Linked DNA regions of Homo sapiens: region 2 is linked to region 1. The links are contacts of gene promoters, found by promoter capture Hi-C in human tissues and cell types (Jung and others, 2019). All regions are on one chromosome and are shown on one strand. The core of a region is centred on a gene start or on the middle of the fragment in contact, and the rest is flanking DNA. Distances in the headings are between cores, read along the strand shown.

The links. The method cuts DNA at HindIII sites, captures the fragments that hold promoters and counts their contacts. A contact is called where the count stands out against the background at its distance.
Region 2: a fragment that was not itself captured here is called in contact with the fragment with the promoter of ITGA8 in region 1 in 1 of the 25 tissues and cell types used here (aorta).

Annotation. Positions count from the first base shown.
Region 1 is chr10:15,716,993-15,721,926 of GRCh38, reverse strand. ITGA8 (integrin subunit alpha 8) reads left to right here and starts at 2,005. Exons shown (of 30, transcript NM_003638.3): 1 at 2,005-2,364; 2 at 3,028-3,161. The coding sequence starts at 2,156. The HindIII fragment of the contact is 28,165 bases long and covers 1-4,934 here.
Region 2 is chr10:15,678,027-15,683,461 of GRCh38, reverse strand. ITGA8 (integrin subunit alpha 8) reads left to right here. Exons shown (of 30, transcript NM_003638.3): 5 at 4,679-4,740. Among named protein-coding and RNA genes, the nearest start is that of ITGA8, 39 kb to the left of the region's middle. RefSeq lists an enhancer at 3,258-3,552. The HindIII fragment of the contact is 5,232 bases long and covers 1,470-5,435 here.

The sequences.
Region 1 (4,934 bases), core at 756-3,255:
TGGTCTCAACTCCTGACCCTGTGATTCTCCCGCCTCGGGCTCCCAAAGTGCTGGGATTACAGGCGTGAGCCACTGTGCCCAGCCTGTCCCTTTTCTTTAGCATTTGTGGCCCTCCCCTCCCTTCTGTTAACCAGCTTGAGGTCCTCGCCTCCCAGTGCATCTAGGCAACACCTACTTTGCTTTCCCTTCCTTCCAACAACTACCCCCCACTCCCCACCCCTAAACTTTTGGAGCCCCAGAAGGTATGTCCCGTCTCTGCTCTAGAACTGGCTCCCTTTGCCTCAATAAATGTTATTGTTATTAAGATCCTCTTCCTGAAGATCCAGTCAACCCTATTTCCCACCACTTCCTAACCCACCCCTTTTATTCCAATCCCATGCACAACCATTTAATCTCTGTCTTTTCTAAGTATTAATACCTTCCCTCAACTTCTCCCCCCACAGTGCCCAAATGTAAGCCCCGTATTCAAAATCCTACGTAAATGTACATCTGCCACCAAATCCTCTTACATGCTTCAGAAAAAACTTAGCTCTTCTGTCTCTAAACTTCATATCTGTTTAACCTCGGCTCCTTCCGGTTTCATGCTGACCTGTTTTGTTTAATGTTAACGAATGACCATATGTTATGTAAAGGGATCTATACTCCTTTCTCTTCTCTGTCCTCCCCTACTCAAGCCTCACGTCCTCTCCGACACAGGAGACATGGGAAGAGATTGACAACACCCACGGATCAGAACCGAAATCTGAACTCCTGTAGACTGTGAACTACACCTTCTACCCCCGCAGAAAGTAAACTGTAAATTCCAACATTCTTAACTGCGCCAAACTTCATCACAATTACACAGGATGGAGATTTACTACTAAGTCATTTAATATGCCCAAGATGCCTTTAAGAAAGATTTAAATAAAATCTCAAGGGCTGGGCAAGGCGGCTTACCCTGAAATCCCAGCACTGTGGGAGGCTTAGGTGGGAGGATCGCTTGAGTCCAGGAGTTCAAGACCATGTTGAACAACATGGTGAGACCCCCATCTCCTTAAAAAAAAAAAAAAAAAAAAAAAGAAGAAGAAGAAGAAGGAGAAAGAAAGAGAAACAAAGAAAGAAAAGAAATTTTAAAAGTCAACTCGAGGTGGCAGGACGGCTTGAGGCCAGGAGATCGAGACCAGCCTAGGCCACATGAGCAGACTCAGTGTCAACAAAAAAAAATTAGAAAATTAACCAGGTGTGATGTGTCATCTGCAGTACCAGCTAATCAGGAGGCTGAGGCAGGAGGATCGCTCGAGCCCAGGAGTTTGAGATTTCATTGATCTATGATAGCACCATTGCACTCCAGCTTGGGCGAGAGAGAGACCCTATCTCTAAAAAGAAAAAAAAAATAAATAAAACAAAGCAAACCAACCAAACAAACAAAAACAAAAAATTCACACATGCACACACACAGGCGCGCGCGCACACACACACACACACACAGACACCCAACAACAAAAACAAAAAAAAACCCTCGAGGCTTTCTTGTATATGAGTTAGCTCTGCCAGGAGGTGGGGTGGACTTAGGGGAGGAGAGGGTTGTTGCATTTCAACTTTAACTCTCATCACAGACGTGCAAAGCCGTGAACGCTGAGGTCAGGCTGCAGAGGTGATGAAGAGATAATTGCTTTGCCCCTCCTGGTGGTGGGGTTGGTTTTCACATTCTCCATCCAAGCTGCGCCTTTGACACAACTGGAGCAAGCTCTCGCTCCACCTGGGGCATTGCTTCTAAAGCAATAAATAGCTTGAGGTGACAGAGACGAAACTGATTGTCCTTGAGATGGGACTGCAATAGAAATCCGGGCAGCCCGAAGAGGCACCCAGCGCTCCAGCCACCAGCTGGGCCGCCCGGGAGTCCCTGGCTCTAGACCAGCCGCGAGGAGGCGCCGCGAGAGAGCTGGTCCCTGCCCGCGGCCGGAGGAGGGCTAGAGCCCCTGGGCCAGCCCCCCGAGCCGGCTGGGCGGGCGGGCGGGTGGGAGCAGACGCCGGGCACTGTCACCACGGGTGCGCCGAGCGCACCGACCCGGGACACGGGCAGCTGGGGACCGCCAGATTCCACCAGCCCCCCTTGCCCCGCAGGGGTCCTCGGCTCGCGCTCCTGGGTAGCAGCCACCCACCGGGGCGGAGGGAGATGTCGCCCGGGGCCAGCCGCGGTCCCCGGGGAAGCCAGGCGCCGCTGATCGCGCCCCTCTGCTGCGCCGCGGCCGCGCTGGGGATGTTGCTGTGGTCCCCCGCCTGTCAGGCGTTCAACCTGGACGTGGAAAAGCTCACAGTGTACAGCGGCCCCAAGGGCAGCTACTTCGGCTACGCCGTGGACTTCCACATACCCGACGCCCGCACGTAAGTCGCCCGACCCGGGGAGGTGCGCGCGGGGACGAAGGCGCTCCCGGGTCAGGTCCCAGCGGCTCTGCCGCGGAGTCCCCCCGCAGCCTGGGATCCCCGTCCTGCCGCCTGCCCGGGGTCCCGTCCCTCTCCCCGCCACCAGCCCCTTCTCTCCCCTGCCATGCTAGATGTGCCTTGTGAATTTTGAGCTAGAGACATGCCACTTGCATAGAACACGCAAGTCCTGGGTGTTCCAGGTACCAAGACGCACGCATCCTACAAAGGAGAGAACAGGACCCAGAAGACCCAAGCCAGTTAAAACCGCCACCACAGCGAGGTCTGTTTATGCAGAGTCTGTAACCATTGCGTCTGGGCGCAAGAGCTGTCGGCTACCAGCAGCTGGGCTCTGTCCTTGGCTTCCTCCTACCCCACCCCCTTCTCTCATCTCACTGTACCCACAGAGCTCCACCTAGAGAAGCAGGACCGTTTGCATTCTTGCAAACCAGGTTGCGGACCCCCGTTTCCAAGAGGAAATCAAGTTTGACAGTCGGTCCTCATCATAAATACGTTCATGCCCTCCACGCCTGCCCCAGTGTCCCCGGGCAGGAGGTTACAGAGACTGCATTGCATGCGCACGGTTTTGTGGCGCCCAAAGAGTGACTTTCTCCAACTCTTTTGCAGAGCGAGTGTCTTGGTGGGGGCGCCCAAAGCCAACACCAGCCAGCCCGATATCGTGGAAGGGGGAGCCGTCTATTACTGTCCTTGGCCCGCGGAGGGGTCTGCGCAGTGCAGGCAGATACCGTTTGACACCACCAGTAAGTGAGATTTGTCCTTCTAAGCTGTGGGCCTGGGTTTGGAAGAACCAGGGCCATCCCAGAGGCGACTTCCCGCTGTCTTGGTGTGCTGCTCGTTTAGCTTGTCTGATATGTCCGTATTGTGGGCTATGTGGGTCTCTAGAGAAATCAGTTTTTTCAACTCTCAGTTAACTGAAGGAAGACGTTTAGTGAACCCTAGAGAAAGGACACTATTTTGACCCTGAGTGTTCGGATGCATCCTGGCAACTCCTGTTTCTTTACCTTTCTGAGATGAGCATTTTCAGGGTGAGTGGATGTTTTGGAGAAATACAAAAACTATGTCCTAACTTTGACTGTGGAGAGAATTTGGTTGCTTCTCAAGGACAGATCTGGAAAAAGAGAGATCCTTAGCGTTTCCAGTGCCCAAGCTCGGGAGGCAGGACTTAGCTGCTGCAGACCCAGACATCACTCCGCGTTGCTGTTTAATTCTTTACAGAAAGAAAGAATTTTCTTTCAAAGTATTAGACATTGAATGCAAACTAGTGCAGGCAGAGTGTGGATGGATTACATTCATTTCCAAAATCCCTAGACAGATGTTTCTTATTTAATTAAAGGGAAAATACATTTTAAACAATTCAGTCTGGTTACGTTTCCTCTGGTGTTTTCTCTTTAGAGCCTGAGAAAATAATTTAAATGCGATGCTTTCAAAAACATTAACACCGAATGCTTTAATTTTTACCACCAAAACTTTATGAATTCAAAAGGTATATATTATCAGAAAGCAAATATCTCTTTCCAGAAAAATGCGAATATGTCAGCTTGAACAATGGTCCTTGATAAATAATCGTTTAAAATACCTTGTGTACCACACAACTATTTTATGACATACTTGATTTCTTTGATTTTTAATTGTTTGATTAGTGCGTATATGGAATTTATGCGGAATATTTTCACAGAATTTCGATGAAATTGGCTGGATGATGTTTACTTGTTACTATAATTTGTATCTTTTATGTTAAAGGAGAAAACAATTTCAGTTTCATAAATATGAAAATATTTCAAAGCAAAACAGACTATACAAGCATTACCTTGAATTATGACCAAATTAGGAAAGTATTTTATAAAAGCATTGGAAAATTATATTTTTATCATGCCTGTCTATATATGGTCACAATAGCTTATCATTTTATTAAATATTCTGTTATTTTATACCAGTTTTTATAAGCTTTTACTTTTAAATTTGAGTATTAGCAACCAGGAAGATTAAACCTTTTGATGTTAATTTGTGACAGAAATCTTTTAATTAGTTATTTTATCAAGACTTGAGACACTTTCTAGCTACTGCTCTCTAGTTTAAGAATAAGCTTCGTAAACCAAAAGAATTAAACATTTAAACACAAAATTAATGCCATTTTAATAATTCATATCCGAATCATTTGTATTTTTAAAAGTATTTTAAAGCAGGCCAAATAAAGACATGAATCATTAACATTATTTGAATTTACATTAAGGAAAGTATATTTTGAGACATGGTTGATGTGTTTTCACCAAGAAGCAATTTATGGTCGTGGAAAAGAATTTAATAATCTTCTTGTATAGTCTCATAACATCAAATCAGGATCTGATTAGTATTTTTTTCTTTTGATAAAGGAAGAATCAATGTCTGCCCTGATAAGTTACAACTGACTTACTTTGTAAGTACTCATCCCAATAGATGTCATAGGCCAACAGATTAAAAACCAGAGAATCCAGATGTCAACTATGAATTCAAAAAATAACTGACCACTCCTAACT
Region 2 (5,435 bases), core at 2,836-5,335, 41 kb after region 1:
AGTTCTAGGAATCTTGCAGCCAAGCAGTCTTTAAAGCAAACCTGGGAGTGTCATCTTTGGGGCATTGTGTTTTAATCACTTTATCTCTGTTGAATACCCCAGACTTGGGATAGCATAATGGATGGATGGATGGGTGGGTGGGTGGGTGGGTGGGTGGGTGGATGGGTGGATGGATGGATGGATGGATGGATGGGTGGATTCATCTACTCAGAGTCCTTTAATTAACTCCTCCAGTTTTCAGTGTGCCAGATAGATCACTAGGATTTGTTGATAAGATACCTATGGATTTTCATTCTTGTTGATAATTCACAAGACCATATTGGAGGGAAAATGTAGTAGAAAGAAGATTCTAGGACTGATTTCAGGAAATTGACTTAAAGAAAAAACACTAAATCCCAAATTAGCTTGAGCTCTAAAATGTAAATTTTCCCCCTTTTGCCTGAGTGTTTTTAAAATTTCAGGATTAATGTAGGGAAGATAATGATCAAATGCCATAAATAAATGAAGAGAAAAAATCGATTAGTGATATTAGAGGGTTAACAAAGAGGCTGCTGAGATTTAGAAGCCTAAATAACAGGCAGTAGAAATTTTTTTTTTTTTTTTTTTTTGAGACAGGGTCTCACTCTGTCACCCAGGCTGGAGTGCAATAGTGTGATGATCATGGCTCAATGTAGCCTCGACTTCCTGGGCTCAAGCAATCCTCCCACCTCAGCCTGCCAAGTAGCTGGGGCCACAGGCATGTGCCACCATGCCTAATTTTTGTATTTTTTGTAGAGAGGGGTTTCTGCCATGTTGTCCAGGCTGGTCTTGAACTCCTGTGCTCATGCGATCCATCCGCCTCAGCCTTTCAAAGTGCTGGGATTACAGTCGTGCGCCGCCACACCTGGCTTGAACATTTAACCTGATGGCTTTTAGTGAGGATTTTTAACAAGGAGAAGATTATTGCTTTCTGTTTAAAAATACTGAGGTAAATCAGACACTTCTTCAGATTACAACAAATGTCAGCTGAATGGATAGTCCATGGAATAAGGATTTTATTTTAAATAGCTTTAAAGTAGGGGTTCTTTGTAGTTCATGGGACTCAATTATTTATTCAATGCAGGATTTCTTTAAAAAGAAAAACCACACATTGAGCAGTAAACTAACTCTTCTATGTTTAGGAAATTCAGCAAAGAACAAGAGGGAAAAAGCCCCCTGTTCAAGGAACTGCCTCTAGACAGTAAACATGTAAATAAATGTGTTTATGATGCAATGTCAGGCAGTGAAAAGTGCTACAAAAAAATACAGCAAGACGAGAAAGAAGGGAGAGACCTGTGCTGGGGAAGCCAGGGGAGGAGCAGCATTTTAGACAAGACGATAGAAAGGGATTCTTCTAGCAAATGATTATTGGAGGAGAGAAGAGAGAAACTTCCCGGACTCAGGCAACAACCAACATGAGGCATAGTTTGTGTCATGTTCCATTCAAAGTGCTGTGCTCTTGGGTTTATTAAGAGGTCAGTATTGTTATGCTAAAGATAAAATCCCACAAACAATAACAAAGGATATCCAAAATATATCAGAAAATGAATGGTAGTGGAGAGATTCATTATTGAACTTTTCATCAATATTTACACCTGTCCATATCCTATACTCCATGATTTGCCCATGTTCCTGTTCTGTGATATTGACCATATGCTCATGGACAAGCTGGCTTGTTCAACAAACAGCAAATAACTGTAACTAAAGACAAGACCATCCTTCATATGCCTTTTGCCTTGATAATGTAGGTTATTCTTCCAACTGCCTTGAAGGATGATATTTATAAAACTAGTCACTCCTTGTTCTGCCTTTTTGCCAGACTACCTGTGTGGGATGTGAGGGCTCAGATCAAAATACAGCACATGAAATGCAGACTTGTAGGGGAAAAGTTTCAGAGTGAGTTTGAACCATTTTTTTAAAAAGTACACTAATGTACATTTGCATCTTAAGCTACATGGACACAGTAGCCTAACAGCTCAACAAAGACAGAATGGAGCACATGTTGAGTTGCAGAATAGCTCAATAAATTGCCATGAATTATTTCCTTTGTGGTGTATAGCCACAGTTTTCACATCCTCCTGGTCTCCCTATTCCTACGGGTACTTCTTCCTCCTCAGATCATCCAAGAAGCAGACTTCCCGTCATGGCCAAGAAGTTCACAGATCATTAACACAAAGCCAGCTTGTTCATGAGCATATGGTCAGTATCCCAGAACAGGAAACATCAGCAATATTATTTTCAAAAGAGAATTTAAAGAAGCTCCTCATGTTAATCTTATACCGCAAACCCGCTCTGCTGATATTGTTAGACATTACCTGCTCATTCATATTGATGACCTGCCTATGGCTCTCATGGTCATTCATAATTCAGGTGGAGATGGTTCATACACACACCCTTCCATTTGTTGGGTAAGACGTCAACAAATAGTAGCAAATTATCCACATGCTTCCTTGGATTCCTGAGTTCACTCTAGGACATAATTATCAAGTTCACAAATGCTCTGAAGTCCCAGGAAGAAAGAGTCCTTCAGCTCTCATAAATTATGATTCAACAAGGAAAAAAAAAAAGACTTTGCAATGGAAAGAACCTCACACTCTATTATAATTGCCACTTACAATAAACATTTGGAGCTGATTATTTTCTCAGTGTATTTTGTAAAAAAAAAAAAAATGAATGTTTTCTCTTAATTTTTTTCAGCCTGCTGTTTTAAAGCAATACTTTCAAAGAATGGTCATGTTTCTTCCCTTTCGAATAATTTACAATCATAAAAATAAAAAGTCAGGGTTGAATTTAAAAGGGATTTTTAAAAGGCTTGTGCATGGAAAAATAAATATAAAAACACATATGAACACATATATGTTCAGAGTAATATCTCATGCATTCATATATACTTCTGGATGCATATAAATATTTACACATATGAGCTTCTAGAAAATTGATACTTAGATATTCCAGATTATAGAGATGAGCTTTTAGGGAACTTTATAGGATTCATGACCATAAATCATGAAATATAGCGGTAAAATAAGGAACAAATTTTGTTAAAATACAGTGCATGAGGTTAAAAAGTGTTTTTAAAAATAAAGGACTCGGGAGGCTGAGGCAGGAGAATGGCGTGAACCCGGGAGGCGGAGCTTGTAGTGAGCTGAGATCGCGCCACTGCACTCCAGCCTGGGCAACAGAGGGAGACTCCATCTCAAAAAAAAAAAAAAAAAAAAAAAAAAAAAGGAGCATCTGGAAAAAATTGATGGTGACAGCGCTAAAACTAGCTAACTAATGACCAAAGGAAAGAAAAAACCGGAAGACATTCTAAGGGAAGCCGGAAAGGCCAGGTCCATTTCAAAAAGCTTCTGAACAGGCGCATGCCCAGTCATCAATATTTCCTGTGATGACATGTATTTCCTTTCCTGTTCTCTTATTTCAGTTTCCATTGAGGAATATCCTTGATAAGAAAGAAATAATTATTTACATGTCCAAATCTAACTATGCAGGATTGAGATTCCCTCTACTTAATTCACTACATTTTGGCTATTTTAGGCATGTTAGAAGTTGTAGAAACTCTTTTAAAGTACAAGTTACAAGTAGTAAATTCCTGGTCCTAATGCCCTACAGACTTTTGATAACAATAGCCTTGAAATCAACGTGTTGGCCTGCCTATAGCTTACAACTGTACCATGAGATCCTATTGGACAATGAGTTAGTGAATCATATTGGATAGAAAGCAAGATAAGCCACTACTAGAATTTTCTCTTTTGTGAACACTAGCATTGCAATGTCCAGTGAGACTGTGACCAGAAATGCAATTTCCCAATTTACCTAGCCTATTATAATAGGATAATTTGTTTTTATTATTATTTTGTTTGAGTTGGAGTCTTGCTCTGTCACCCAGGCTGGAGTGCAGTGGCATGATCTCGGCTCACTGCAACCTCCGCCTCCTGGGTTCAAGAGATTCTCCTGCCTCAGCCTCTCAAGTAGCTGGGCCTGCAGGCATGCACCACCATGCCCAGCTAATTTTTGTGGTTTTAGTGGAGATGGGGTTCACCATGTTGGCCAGGATGGTCTCAATCTCTTGACCTCATGATCTGCGCACCTTGGCCTCCCAAAGTGCTGGGATTACAGGCATGAGCCACCACAACTGGCCATAATAGGATAATTTAAAATTAAGTTCCTCTTAAAGAGCGTAACAGTGGAAATGCTTATTGGTGGCCCAGAAGATGACATCTACAAAGGTCATCTTGCACTGCCCCTTCTTCCTCAAGGTGTCAACTTTTGGGAATGACAGACCTATCTGCCTTCACACAGCACGAGGGGGCAAAAGAGAGACACGTTATTGCCTCATGGGAAATTTGGAATATAGTCAAAGATAGAGATTTTATTTCTTCAAATGAAAGTGAGTCATAAAACCCAATAGAGTAGCCAAAAGGGATGTTATTCCTGTTGATCTTACTAGAGAATCACAACGCTATTTGGTGTAAGAAAACAGACAGAAATATGTTTAATAAATTACTTGAACAACATTTTAAAAATAAACATAAAACACATATTGATCATTTTTAATTTAGAAGGTTCTAGAGAAAATAACATAATATCCTGAATTGGTTATTAAAAAATATTTCAGGAATGATAACGTTATAACATTTATGTATTTTGATCGTTCTAGGCAATGCTGATCCGGAAGGCCAGGGTTACTGCCAAGCAGGATTTAGTCTGGATTTTTATAAGGTGAATTATTTTGGTCTCGCAGTTCCTAATATTTAATCTGATTTTTTTTTACCCTCTGCCTCTCACTCCCACACCCCAAAACCACCACCACCACCAAAGAACCAAAGAATCTTGAGGAACATACCTAGCCTGTTTGGGCAAATGCTTTCTAAAAAAATTTTTCCATTCACTTTTTATTTTTATGTAAATAATTTATGCACATAGCGGCCTATTAAATAGTAGAGAAATAGACATGATAAAAAGCAACAGCCTTTCTTCTGATCCTTTGTGGCAATAATTTTTTAAATGAAAATCTAAAAAACTCAGTAATGTTTCTTAAAAAGATCACATGAATCTATTCATTGTTTTGTTAACTGTAATTGACCAGTTACATTTAATATTAATATTAAAATTCATATATCCTTTCAAAAAATTAAAAAGAGATGTTCAGTAAGAATGTAGAGGGAAAAGATTCTGTGGTTTTGAAAATAGTATAGAAAAATTTCATCAACGTATAAACTGTTTACTGTCTTTTATCATTCTTTTTATCATTACTTTTTTGTTTTTATATTTTCCACTGAGAGTTAAAGATATGAGGCACGAAAGGTGAGGATGTCAATTCATGAGAAAATGTTTATATTTGCTAGTCTGGAGTGTTTGCTCTTTCTCCTGAGAAGGGGGTGGCACTGGGGATGTATGGAAAAAAATAGGCATTA